3 separate regions of the Homo sapiens genome follow, and all the other regions are linked to region 1. The links are contacts of gene promoters, found by promoter capture Hi-C in blood cells and fetal thymus (Javierre and others, 2016). All regions are on one chromosome and are shown on one strand. Each heading gives the region's core, a stretch centred on a gene start or on the middle of the fragment in contact. The rest is flanking DNA. Distances are from core to core; before and after follow the strand shown. Region 1 holds the start of ADAM7-AS2 (ADAM7 antisense RNA 2). Region 2 overlaps STC1 (stanniocalcin 1). Region 3 has its middle 89 kb from the start of NEFL.

The links. The method cuts DNA at HindIII sites, captures the fragments that hold promoters and counts their contacts. A CHiCAGO score of 5 or more calls a contact.
Region 2: a fragment that was not itself captured here is called in contact with the fragment with the promoter of ADAM7-AS2 in region 1 in 1 of 17 cell types (total B cells); the score reaches 5.9 in total B cells.
Region 3: a fragment that was not itself captured here is called in contact with the fragment with the promoter of ADAM7-AS2 in region 1 in 1 of 17 cell types (megakaryocytes); the score reaches 5.4 in megakaryocytes.

What each region holds. Positions count from the first base shown.
Region 1 is chr8:24,512,338-24,516,885 of GRCh38, forward strand. ADAM7-AS2 (ADAM7 antisense RNA 2) reads right to left here and starts at 2,531. Exons shown (of 5, transcript NR_125809.1): 1 at 2,449-2,531; 2 at 2,238-2,327. All of the region lies in intron 1 of ADAM7-AS1 (ADAM7, ADAMDEC1 and ADAM28 antisense RNA 1), which reads right to left. The HindIII fragment of the contact is 1,717 bases long and covers 1,165-2,881 here.
Region 2 is chr8:23,840,232-23,844,779 of GRCh38, forward strand. STC1 (stanniocalcin 1) reads right to left here. Exons shown (of 4, transcript NM_003155.3): 4 at 1,698-4,548. The coding sequence ends at 4,539. Among named protein-coding and RNA genes, the nearest start is that of STC1, 12 kb to the right of the region's middle. The HindIII fragment of the contact is 603 bases long and covers 1,471-2,073 here.
Region 3 is chr8:25,043,248-25,047,795 of GRCh38, forward strand. No RefSeq gene overlaps it. Among named protein-coding and RNA genes, the nearest start is that of NEFL, 89 kb to the left of the region's middle. The HindIII fragment of the contact is 5,359 bases long and covers 1-4,548 here.

The sequences.
Region 1 (4,548 bases), core at 1,281-3,780:
TGAGAAATATTGATTAGATTCCTAGGCTTTTTGAGAAGCTTCCTGATCACTTTCTAATTGAAGTTCAGGCTTTTAGGAAACTCAAGAGCTGATGTATAGGGAAGTGAGGGTCTAGTGGGCTGGACAGAATCCATTAACATCTGTCTCCAGGAAAAGTTGTAATTGTGAGACATATGTAATGGGTATTGATTGCTAAGGAAAGAACATACATATAACTTTAAACCTTAGAAGTCTCCAAGGACAAAAAAAAATATGGAAAAGGGGGGGTCTTTGGGATTGCAGGAATGCTGGCTGGGAAGAAATTGTATCAGAGCTGTCTTAGAGGATCTTAGATAAGTAAATTCAAAAGCCAAAGTCTCTTGCCCAAGGATACGAGAGATATGCTACTACAGCAGCTAGAACAAACAGCATTTCGTGAGTGGACACTATTTGTCAGAGATTATTCTAAGCACTTCATACGTATTATTTCATTTAACTTAAAACAATGAGTTAAATACTATTACTATTTTCATTTTACAGCTTGGAAAACTGATATGAAAAAAGTCAAATAATTTGCCAAAAGAGACAACTGATTAACTAGTATAGTCACAATTCTAAGCCAGGAAGTCTAACTCCAAAGAGTATGCTTTTAATCATTATTATGCTACTGATATTAATACAACTTTGACAGGAAGAATGCACAGCCCTCACCCCCAAAATTCAGAACTGTGTAAATATCTCACTCCCATTCTCGTCTTCCATCTACCATCCACCATACTTCCCAACCACAGTATAATGGTGCGTGAGTTAACATATCAGGTAGGAAGCGCAAAGCTAGGCAGCTGTCACCTCCCAATTCAGCCAGAGCATGGCTGAGATGTTTTTGTCCAAGGAAGAACTGTATTTGGGGATGGACTAAAACTTAAACACTCTTTGAAGCCCTCATTGGCCACTTCCTAGCAGACACTTTGGGATCCTTGAATCTTTCCCTTGTGTTATAGTGACCTCAATTTCTGGATGATCCCTTCTTAATAGAATAGACCTCTACTTGGGTGGTGCTTTAATTCAGCTTAGTGTGTTTGGGCAAGCTGTCTGTTGCTGTCTCTGCCATCACTGTGCATAAAAGGGAAGACGGTGGGTCAGGGGATGGCAGCGGCCAATCAAGAGATAACAGCCCTCTGCTAAAGCTTCCTTCCTTGCTTTAATCAAATGAAGAATGCACCAGATGAGGGTCACTTGGAACACATAGGGAAAGGTAGAATGCCTACAAAGAATCTTCCAGACCCCATACTACTGCATTTCCATGAAATGCACAAGGTCCATGGGAAGGATTATTTTACAAATGAGGAGGCTAGGGATTAAGAGGTCCTCAAACACACAGCCAAGAAATGGCAAAACAGGAATCACAGGCCTCAGACCAAAGCCACCATCCGAACAGTAACTCATTCCAGTTTTAAAAGTGACAGCATCACAACTGGCCACTGGATGACCTCAGAGTTCAATCCTGCTAAAAGTAGCTTTGGATTGAGACCATCCTGGCCAACAAAGTGAAATCCCGTCTCTACTAAAATACAAAAAATTAGCCAGGCATGGTGGCATGCACCTGTAGTCCCAGCTGCTCGGGAGGCTGAGGCAGGGGAATCCCTTGAATCCAGGAGGCAGAGGTTGCAGTGAGCTGAGACTGCACCACTGCACTCCAGCCTGGCGACAGGGCCAGACTTTGTCTCAAAAAAAAAAAAAAAGTAGCTTTGATGTTGAAAGGGGCTGGGTAGTAGAGATCAGTTAGTGGGCCCTCCCCAATCCTAGCCAAAAGGAGCACAGTATCCATTTCATTTTCACATCTTCAGGTTCTTCAAAGTCATGCCTAAAGTGGGGAAAGAATTAAAAGATCTACTGTCATTCTAACAGGATTCAAAGAGAGGAACCACTGGATGGAAAAATGTGAATTATTTTAGACAAAGCCTTTAGCATTTAAAATACTCCTCATCCCATAATTAATCTATTCCTTTCTCTCACGTTATCAGCATCAGTGCCTTGATATCAAAGTGTATGTCAATAAGTCACAGAAGGGAAGATAATAGTTGGAGTGACCTTCTGAGCTTCTAGGTTGTTCTACCCTCTCCCTTAAAGTCCTGGCTCAGGGGTGTGCCTCCTCAGGTCCACCAGGGAAAGCAGCTGTAGAGTAATCTGATCCTCTCCAAAATGTCCGTGACGCTGTCTCTGAAGAAGGACATTTCCCAAGTTTAAGCTATCATTACCTACTGCAGTCTTCTGTCTGGCTGAAGGAAGGAAGAAATAATCTCCTAAAGTGGCACATTGTGCAAATCTGATGCGTCAATCTTGAAGCACTGCCAAGCAATTCAGAAGAGAAATAAATCAATTCATTCCATCTCCTTAATGCTGCCGTGTCTAACAGGTTTCTATGCTGAAAATATCACCAGCTGGACACTGTGACACTTAATATTGCACCTTCAGAAATGAATTATCAGGCACAAGCCCAGTCTGATGTCATTCTCCTTCCCTGGTTCACTTGAATCTTCAAGAGAAAGAACACTCAGGCTCAGAAGGAACAATGATAAAATGGTAGAACAACATGACATCACCTCCGCATCACAAAACAGGCAAAGTTATAATCCTCTTCACTAGGATCCCTCTGTGACTCCTCTAAACAGAAACAATAACAAAAAAGCAGAGGCAGAGATTAAGCACACTTACAGATTTCAGAGGGGAAAAAACTTAGAAAAGTAAAAAACGAATGTGGACTGATGCCATGTAGGTTCTATTTACTTATCCATTAACGTCTTTGTTCAACATGTACTCATCGCATACTGGCTGTGTTAGAGGTATTATTCTAGGGACATGTAGATATGTAGGTGTACACAGCCCTGCCCTGAGAAAACCAAGCTTTGTGAGCAAGCAAAACAGGCTTCTAAATGGATGGTCATAAATTATGTGATGTCTGTATCAAAACATCTCATGTATCCTCTGAATATATATACCTACTCTGTACCCACAACAATTAAAAATTAAAAGTTTAAAAATAAAATACATTGCCACATATACATGAAAAATGAAATTCTGGAAAAAAATTAGAAAAATAAATTAATGTGATACATGGCACCAAAGAGGAAGGCAGTAGGTGAAATTGCCCAGGGGAATGAAGAGGAGGCTTCTAATGCTTGTTGGAATGGAGAAGGCGTCAGAGAGGTAACTTTTAATCAAGGTCTTAACAAAGGTACAAGGGTTTGCCAAGCAGAGAATTAACATTCCAGGGAGAAGCAGCGAGTCTAAGCATACCTGAGTTTGGTAGGTCTGATCACAGAAAGTAGGTTAGTGTAGTTATATCATGAGGTATATAGGAAAGCATGGTATGAGAGGACATTAAAGACAGGCTGCATTGGATATTCTATGCTGTGGTTATCTGTTGTTGTTTGAGACAAGGTCTTGCTACATGGCCCAGGCTGAAGAGCAGGGGCATGATCTCGGCTCACTGCAACATCTGCCTCCTGGGTTCAAGTAATTCTCTTGCCTCAGCCTCCTGAGTAGCTGGGACTACAGACGTGTGCCACCATGCCCAGGTAATTTTTTAATTTTTTGTAGAGACAGAGTTTCACAATGTTGGCCAGGCTAGTCTCAAACTCCTGGCCTCAAGTAATCTGCCTGCCTCAGCCTCCCAAAGTGCTGGGATTACAGGCATGAGCCACTGTGCCTGGCATGGTGTGGATATCTTAAAGGCAAATGACTTGGTAAAATAACTTAAATGAAAGTAACAAGGTAAAATTTGTGTTTTAGGGGGGAGAACTGCATGATTTTGAAGGTTGGATAAAAGAAGGCTACTGTACTGTCCAAGTTAGAAGATATGAAACCTCAGAGAGACTGGAGTAGTAGAAACATAGATTAAAGGAGGGCTATAAGAAGTTCTTTTTTGATTGGATAAGGGAACAGGGATGAGGTCAAGGGCAGAGTTGATGCTGTCTTCCATGTTTCTGATTTGTGTAGATGAAGTTTTATGGGTTCCTTAACCAAGAAAAGAAAGTAAGAGAGAAGCAGGTTAGATTGGAGATGACAATGGAGCTTAAGTTTGATGCATTTTTAACTTTCTTATGTAAATAAATATAGTGAATTAATATAACAATAAAAGTATACTGGTAAGTTTATGTAATCAAATTGGGGTAACTGAGATACCTATCATCTTAAATATTGTCTTTTTTTAATGCGAGGAACACTCAAGTTATTTTTTTCCAGCTACTTTGAAATGTACAATTGATGAATGTTAAGTGTAGACACCCTACTAATGTATCCTGAAAATATGTACACGTATATCAACCAAAAAATCTAAAAAAACAAGTATACTAAGAAATACTCAGATAAGTTTTCCTAAAAAAATTACTTAAAAATACGCATTCAATTTTACTCAGTTATTGTGTTAACAGTTGACTATCTAGAACTTTGGACTAGGAGCAGAGGGTATATAGTACAGTGTAGGTTTATCAAATATTGTTTTAGATTTAAAAGAAACGTGTTCCTTTTATAGGTTTTGAAAACAAAGCCCAATGAAGTTAAACAGCT
Region 2 (4,548 bases), core at 522-3,021, 670 kb before region 1:
ACAAACAAAAAAACAGATTTATAAAATCTTAATTAAATAATAATGTTTGGTGACCTACAAAAGGAAAAAGTCAGAAAAACATTCTTCATCCAAAATGGTACCTCAATACTCACAGTGAGGGTGAGAGTAGAATCTAAGTGATGGGAATAACTTTAATGTAAATGGTGAGAGTTACATGTATTGAGGGCTCGAGGAATTCTATTCTTTGGGTACTTGCTATATGGTAGACACTATTTTAAGTCCTTTATATGTAACACATTGAATTCTCAGTTACTTTTGGAACTAAGGCCTACTATTTGTCCCTATTTTGTAGGGGCATTTTCATAAATGAAAAAAACTAAAGTGTGAAGATATGAGACACTTGGCCCAAGGCCACAGAAATGGTAGAGGAACTAAGGTTTAAACTCAGTTTATACAAATCCCAGGTCTGTTTTTTTTTTTTTAAACACTATACTACAGTGCAGCATGCAGTCTCTCTGTATAAATAAATATTTATAGGAGACTATGGATGAAGGATAATAATAAAAGAAATGTGCTCTTTTTCCTTGGCCAGGTCAGAGTAAAGCAAGTGCAGTACGTATTTGGCCCTTAAGTGACAATTCATGTACTATTTATTAGTTGCTTTGGGCATAACTGAACTTGGGAAAATGCAATTTGGAGCTAGAAATGAATGATGTTGAGAAAAATGCCCCCATTTGAATTTAAAATATGGGAAAAATTCACTAATATTTAATTGTGAAGATAACCTTCACAATTAAAGGTGTCTCTTATATAAGGTGTCTCTTGAAAAAAATTATACCACCGAAGCTCCCCTTTTTATGTGACCAAACTCATAAGCATCCTTCAAGACCCAGCTGTCATTCTGTTGTGAAGTCTTTGACCATTTTCTGAGATAGGGAGCTTTTGCTCTCATTGTCGCAACTTGTATGATAACAGCTGACCCTCGTTGAGCATAATCGTATATTGGGAATATTGTAAGCAGTTCACTTGTTTTATTTCCCTGTAGCAGCTCTGTGAGATGACTGTCACAATCCCCATTTTACGGAGGGAGAAATTGATGTGTTTTGAGATTAAGAAACTCTTCTGACATCATGTGGTTAATGAGTGACAGAGACTGAATTCAAATCTTTTGTTTTAACTGCAGAGCTATCTGCCTTCCTTGTCACACTGATTCAGTTGTCTTTTTCCCCCTCCTCCAACTCTTTCTAAATCATTCATTTAAAGTATTGAAGATGCTATTTTAGCGTTGGGAACACACTGGTGACCAAGCACGCGCTTCTCCCCATCATGCTTTCAGTCTGAGTGAAGGATGGAGAAAAAAAATCTTCCAAAAAGAGACAATAGCATAAATAAAAGACCTGGAAGGGACAGATCCCAATCATTCCCAGAACTGCCTATGTGGTGGGAGCGTAGAGGTCACTGAACAGAAAGAAAGTTGGGTCTTACAGTTGAGCAGCCTGTAGACCTTAAAGCTTCTTCCAACTTTGTAAGGAGTTTGGGATACCATCAGTGAGAATAATGGGAGTCACTCAATGTTTTTTAAAAAACTTAGGAAATGTTGACTTAAACAATATGTCAAATTTACATATTGACAATTAGTGACTTTAAAGAAACCAACCAGTCTGTGGTTCATGTTCAGAAATTCTCATTCAATAAGTTTTTCAAGAATAACAATGAAAGACATGGGGGGAAACCAATAAAACGTAACACTTTATTATTATTTTTATCTTAGAAGGAATTCACCAAAGGCTTCATATTATGCTATGGCATCTTTAATTATAAAAATAAGCAAATAAAATAACTTGCATCTGTCATTACCATGATATGTTTCATAACCTTTATATGCACATGGAGCTTAAAAATGTAATTTAACAATAAATAATGACATATACCAGATATGCTCACTGTTTATTCCAGTACTCAGCCAAAAACCTAAATATCATTTAAATTATAAATACATAATGCAAATATAATGGCACAAAAATGTCTAAAGTGCAACCAAATCACAAGAGAAGAATCATGCAAACTGGTCTAGGTCAGCCCCCGAATCACTCTGCAGCAAACACAAGACGAAGCTTTGGAAGTTTAAGGGGGAATTGGAGGGAGTAGGGTGGGGGAAAGAGAAGCAAAAAACTAGCAACATTGTGAGAACTGCTTCTTTCTGTATGTGTAGATATATGTATTGTAGATACATATATAGATATCATCGTGGGGAGAAAAGGGGGGGTACCACGGTTTGAAGAGGTCACAGCCAAAAAAAAAAAAAAAAAAAAAGAAAAGAAAAAAGGAAATCTACTGAACTGAAGAAAGAGAGAAATTTGCTAGGAATACTCATGAACTACTTGTCGCATTGGGGTCCTGGCTTAGTTGGGTTTGCAAAATGGACACAACACACAAACTTTAATAGCTTTTCTGATTCAGAGAAGTCAGCCTTGCCTGGGGGTGGGAAGTGTGGGAGGGAGGGGAAGAGTCTAACTTAGAATATGGTCTACCTGATTTCCAAGAGGCTAAGGCAGTGTCCATAAGTTTGGGGACCTGGGGATGGGACAGTTCTGAGTATAAAAATGCCCTTAACAATCTGATGTCAGCACGCTTAGAGGCTGTGTGGGGACAAAGGCAGCAATGTTTGTGCTGCTGCTGCTGCTGCTGGGTCTGCTGCAATTGCTCTTGGTCCTTGAGCAGCACGTTACTGGTTTTAAAGGCTTTATGGTAAAGTTGTATTGCTTTTCATTTTTCTGGAGATGTGCCCTCTCTCCTCCCACCAGGATCCCTATCACTCGATTTGGTCAAATCTTGAGTTTAGCCTAGTGAGAGTCAAGCACCAATAGTTTCTACCTAAGCGAGTTTGGAGTGGCCCCTGCAGTCCTACCCCTCCTCCCTCTCTTCCTCTCTTGACATTGACCTTTGGTGGGCAGTGACGCTCATAAGGGACTGTTGGGTTCAAGGACAGTGACCCTGAGAAACTACTGTTGTTCATAGATAGGTTAGTCGTTTGACTTTGGTGGTCGCCATCTTGTAAACATCATGGCAGAAATGATCAAACCACCAGCTCTTTTTCCCTCTTTCTTTCTTTTTTTTTTCTTTTTTTCTATTTTTTTACGATCCTACAGAGATGGTCCAGCTGCCAGGACTACTTTGGCAGGCAGCGTGCTACAGGACGAAAATGTAAGAGAAGTCTATTAAGGCTGGACAGCCCAGGGTTATTTATACTCTCTCAGCCCCAAGTCCCCCGGACTAAAGACCTAAAGGCTGATTGACTCATTCCTGATTGATTTAATGGAAAGTCTCCCACCCCATCATCATTTGCCAGAGTACCAGGCACCGATGAAAGGGGACGAGTAAAGAACTGCCACTTCCTAATGTATAGTAGGCCTTATCACACTGTAAGTGGTCCAAGCCCATAGGGATGCTCTTTTTGGTTCCTGGAATTTCCAGTTGGATGTGACAGAGATCTTTCAGTATAGGTCTAAGTCAAGAGTAGCCTCTGGGTTGAGGTGGGCTGGGAGATTAACATCTTACCTGGGGTCCTTCAGATAAACCTGTTGGTTTTTCCTGTCTCATACAGGCCCATCTTAAGTTTTGATGTTGAATTAAAACTACTTCTACCCCCTTAGTTATAAAAAAGGCCACAAGGAGCATTTATGTGGATATCTGGAAGTGAGATAGTTATTCCATTCCCAGGAAAAGAAAAATAAAGCTAAGTTACAAAACTAAATCTATATGCAATAAAGTTATTATATACTGCTTTGTTTAAGCAGAGTCCTCTGGAATTTATGTACAGTACATTAGTTTTCAGCTATTTATATTCCACAGTTAGACCTTAAGATTCTCTGGTTTTAAGACAATTGTTAAAGATACTTTTAAAGCTCTGAGCAGTTACAGTACGTAAAGATGTTAGCTTTTTGTTTTTCATTAGATGCAAGAAGATGCAGGCTCAAAGTCTGGTTGGACAGCCAGGCTCAAGCAATTTGGTAAATGTGTCGGAAAGAAAATTAGACATTGGAGGATCAAGACCATAAGACACTAGCTCATTAGAGATCAAGAATTCAAATGTGACATTCATATTCGTCCATGGCCAGCACAGATTCATAACACGAATTCCATTTAACATCTTTATGAGCATTTAAGACATGCATTTAAATAAAGTTTCCTTATCAGCTAACTCTACTGGGGCAACCGTTCTAAAGGGATCCACATCTTCAAATTACAATGGCTGGAGAGTTACATGAATGTTTTGTGTTTGGGGGTGGTCTCAGGGGAGCAGGGGAAAAACATGGCAGAGGAAGTTGGTAAAAGAGGGTACTTTCTCCTGAGGAGAGGCAGAATGGTCACATGGATTTTGTTGGTGGGAATGCTGCCATTGCAGAATGTTGGGATATTGATTACAGAAGCCTAGTTTCATGCAATTTTCTTTAAGGGGGATAGAAAATAGGAACTACTTTAAAAAAATCAAACCAGGCACAGTACACTCAAAACTGGTGTGTCAACACCCCTAAAATGATACTAGTTTGGTGAGGTTGTGAATAACCTCTCCCTGGTTATGCACTC
Region 3 (4,548 bases), core at 1,305-3,804, 530 kb after region 1:
CTTTTCTCTGTACACACACATCCCTAGTGTCTCTCTGGGTGTCCAAATTTCCTCTTCTTATAAGAATAGTCAGAATTAATTGGGGCCCACTCTAAAGACCTAATTTTAACTTAATCACCATTGTAAAGTCCCTATCTCCAAATATAGTCACATTCTGAGGTATACTGGGGATAATACTTCAGCATGTGGATTTAGAGGGAAATAATTCAGCCCATAAGAAAGTTGATATTGCAATGTGAGTGATTAAACAATAAGGTGAGAACATTTAGCAACACATAGACTTTGTTGGATAAAGGACAGCGTGATTTTGGAAGACACAAAGCTCTTGAAGGCAAAGTAGTAACACCAGTGTTACTGCATTTTTCACTTACTCTCTAAAATCCATTGGGTACTAAGTAGAACCCAGATTGGCAGTACCACTTGTTCTGGTTTCAGAAATAGTATTCTTCTCTTAAAAAATAAAGAGAAAAGGCCAGATACGGTGGCTGACGCCTGTAATCCCAGCACTTTGGGAGGCCGAGGTGGGCAGATCACAAGGTCAGGAAATCAAGACCATCCTGGCTCATGTGGTGAAACCCCGTCTCTACTAAAAATACAAACAATTAGCCAGGTGTGGTGGCAGATGCCTGTAGTCCCAGCTACTCAGGAGGCTGAGGCAGGAGAATGGCGTGAACCCAGGAGGCGGAGCTTTCAGTGAGCCAAGATCACGCCACTGCACTCCAGCCTGGGCAACAGAATGAGACTCCATCTCAAAAAAATAAATAAATAAAAATTTAAAAAAAGAGAGAAAAAATGATCTGGTGTTTAATATGTCACTTCAAGGAAGAGAGCCAGAGTTTAAGTTACCTTTTCATTAAGATTTATACTGTCTCTTCGATGTTTCAATGCAAAAATCATTTGGCTTGCTCTGTCCTTAACACACAGATACTAAAATTCTGCTCCCTAAAATTGCACCTGGAAGTGACTGAAGACATATTTTGATCCCAAAAATTTATTTATGGGAGTCCATTCTAGGAATTGTTTAGAGGTGGAAGGAAATAAAATATTAAGCATCCCTCACTGCCCAAATTAGAGTGCAGAAAACTGAGCACAATATTGAATGGATTCAATAAACAGAACCAATCAATCAGCCAAACTTCGATTTATTCACCCAACAATTTATTCAGTCAAATGAGTGTTTGTTAAATTAAGGAGTAGTAAATCAATGAAAGATTTATTGAACACATATTATTTTCTAAAACTATGCTGAGCTCCATGGGGAGTGCGAGAACTAGATGAAAGGACCCCTCCCACAAGGAATTTATAATTAAAATGAGAGATAAAACTACCAAACATAAGCGAGAGAATAATTAGTGATTAATTGCACAGTACCAACAATAAATAGAGTGGGAATAATCAGTAAAGTTTTCACAGGAGAAGCGACATGTGAACAAAACCTTAGATGATGATTAGAATTTGACTAGGTGGACAACAGTGAAGGGACACTCTAGGTGCAAGTGATGTCATTACACAACATGGAGGTAGAACTGAGCATGGAGAGTGAGTGGAGCAGTGAGGCCACTTGACTAAGTCAGATGATGCAAGTTGAGGGAGAGTGGTAAATAAGGTTGGAAAGGTTGACAACATTGACAACATTGTCAACATTGTCCAATAATGTTGGAAATGGTCTTAAACAGCAGAGTGTGACACTTTGGCATGAAATAATAAAGCAATAATACATACAGATCTCCTAAATGTCCTTTGCTGGGGAATAGACATGGTGTAACATGTGTGTCTCAGTCTATAACAGAATACCTGAGAAACGGTACTTTATAATGAAGAGAAATTTGTTGTCTCACAGTTTTGGAGGCTGGGAAGTCCAAGATTAAGGTACCAGCACCTGGGGAGAGCCTTTCTGCTGCATCATTATGTGGGAGAAGGTGGAAGAGGAGGCACTCAGCAGAGCAAACCCACTTCTATAAGCCTCTTTCATAATGGCACTAATCCACTCATAAGGGCAGCACCTTATGACCTAAGCATCCCCATTAGGTCTCACCTCCCACTACTGTTGCACTGGGGATTAAGTTTCCAACACATGGATTCTGGGGGACATGTTGAAATCATAGCAATGTGTTTAGGTAGATGAGAGAAAAAGAGGCAACAATCTGCTAGGGCAGCATGAAAGTTACAGCAATTTGGGCAAGTGGTCAGAAGGCCTGAAAATCAACAAATGGAAATGGGTTGGGGAAGCTGTGGATACAAGAAATTGTGAAGGAAATGTAGGCTTATGTCATAGGATGTTTTACATCATTAAATCTGAGTAACTTGCAAAATGATGATGCCACTAACAGTGGAAAGGAAGAGACTGGATCTTTTTGGGAGAAGAAGGTAATGAGTACAGTCATATTGGATTGGGGTGCCTTGAACATTGCAAGTGAAACAACCCACAGACTCTTAAAGATAAAAATGAAGGTTTGGATAGGAAAACTGACTTGGAGATACAGGAGTGTCTAAAGGTGGGTATTCAATATGTTGCTCTGTGATGGAATAGAATGTATCTACACATTTGAAACACAACTTATACATTTTAGGGTCAATAGAGTAGCAATGACAACTGAAGTCATGAGAATGAAACAAGCATCCTCAGACCAAGAAGGAAGAGCAAAGAATCAGTTCAGGGGACTGAGGGAACAGTCAGAATAATAGTGGGAAAACTGAAAGAGTGAAATGTAATGAGAGCCAAAGGAGGATAGAGTTTCACAGAGACAGGGAGTAGCGAGAGGTGTGTAAGGGCTGTGGGAAAGGAGGAAGAATCAATAGTGTCAGATTCAGCCAAAATTCAAGATAATTAAGAGTTAAGAATAGATTGATTTATAAAGCACCACTGGTGTCCTCCAGAAGAGCTGCTATAATACGGTGTCAGAACTGGGACCCAGATGTCAAGGGTTAAAAGTGAAGAATGAGACAGGAAGAGAGATAGGCATACCCTTCAGCATAAACCATGTCAATCAAGTGTAGATTTGAGAATGGGAGCTCAGAGACCCAATGCTATGGTCTGAATGTTTGTGTGGCCCCAAAATTCGTATGTTGAAACCTAATCCCCAATGTAATAGTATTAAGAGGTGGGGCCTTATGCACTGATGAGGTCACGAGGGTGGAGCCCTCATGAATGGGATTAGTGCCCTTAAAAAAGAGGCTTGAGGGCCAGGCGCGGTGGCTCATGCCTGTAATCCCATCACTTTGGGAGGCTGAGGTGGGTGGATCACGAGGTCAGGAGATCGAGACCATCCTGGCTAATATGGTGAAACCCCGTCTCTACTAAAAAATACAAAAAAATTAGCTGGGCATGGTGGCAGGCACCTGTAGTCCCAGCTACTCAGGAGGCTGAGGCAGGAGAATGGCCTGAACCCAGGAGGCAGAGCTTACAGTGAGCTGAGATCGCGCCACTGCACTCCACTACAGCCTGGGCAACAGAGCGAGACTCCGTCTCAAAAAAAAAAAAAAAAAAAAAAAAATGGAGGCTTGAGGGAGTGTGTTCACCTCTTGAACCATGTGAAGACACAACAAGAAGGTGCTGTCTGTGAGGAACAGGCCTTCATCAGACGCCAAATCGGCTGGCACTTTGATCTTAGACTGCTCAGCCTTTAGAACTGCAAACAAAAAATTTTTTTTTTTGAGACAAGGTCTCACACTGTCAGAAAGGCTGGAGTGCAGTGATGCCATCATGGCTCACCGCAGCCTCGACTTCCTGAGCTCAAGCAATCCTCCCACCTCAGCCTCCTGAGTAGCTGGAACTACAGGCATGGGCCATGATGCCTGGCTAACTTTTGTATTTTTTGTAGAGATGGGTTTTGCTTGTTGCCCAGGCTGGTCTCGAACTCCTGGACTCAAGTGATCCTCCTGCCTTGGCCTCCCAAAGTGCAAGAATTACAGGTGCAAGCCACCACACCTGGCCAAGAAATAAACTTTTGTTATTTGCAAATGACCCTGTCTAAGACTTTTTTTTATAGCAGCCCAAATAGACCAAGACACCACCTTATTTTAGACATTGTGAAGAACGTCACATGCAACTGGTTGTCCCCTTTGGGAGGAGACATTTCCATTTGGGACTATAGACTTGGTAATAATCTAAGCTGGTGGTGCCAAGAGTCTAACTTGTGAGATTCAGACTCTAGAGGAGAACAGTTGAAGGCAAAAAGCAGAATTATAAACACTGAACAAGTGTTGTTTATTTGTTTACAAAGTAGTTTGAGGGCTCCAACAAATAAGTATAATTATCTCTATGAAACAAATCCAATAGCAGGACATTAGCAAATCACAACAATTAGCAAATCACAATATGGGTCCATGCTTGTCTGGTGCAATCAATTGTTTGCTTTATGTACTGCTGCTACCTTGATGAAAGGTACTAGTGATGCCCTGAGTGGTCTGAAAGCGGACACTTGAAATCAACCCATGCAGCTTCAGCGAAATTATTTAATTAAGGTTAACAAAGTGGCTTTATTGCATGTGCCAACTCTGAGAAGTTGGTTGTGGCTACAAAGTGTGCAGGGTCAAGAAAGACTCTGA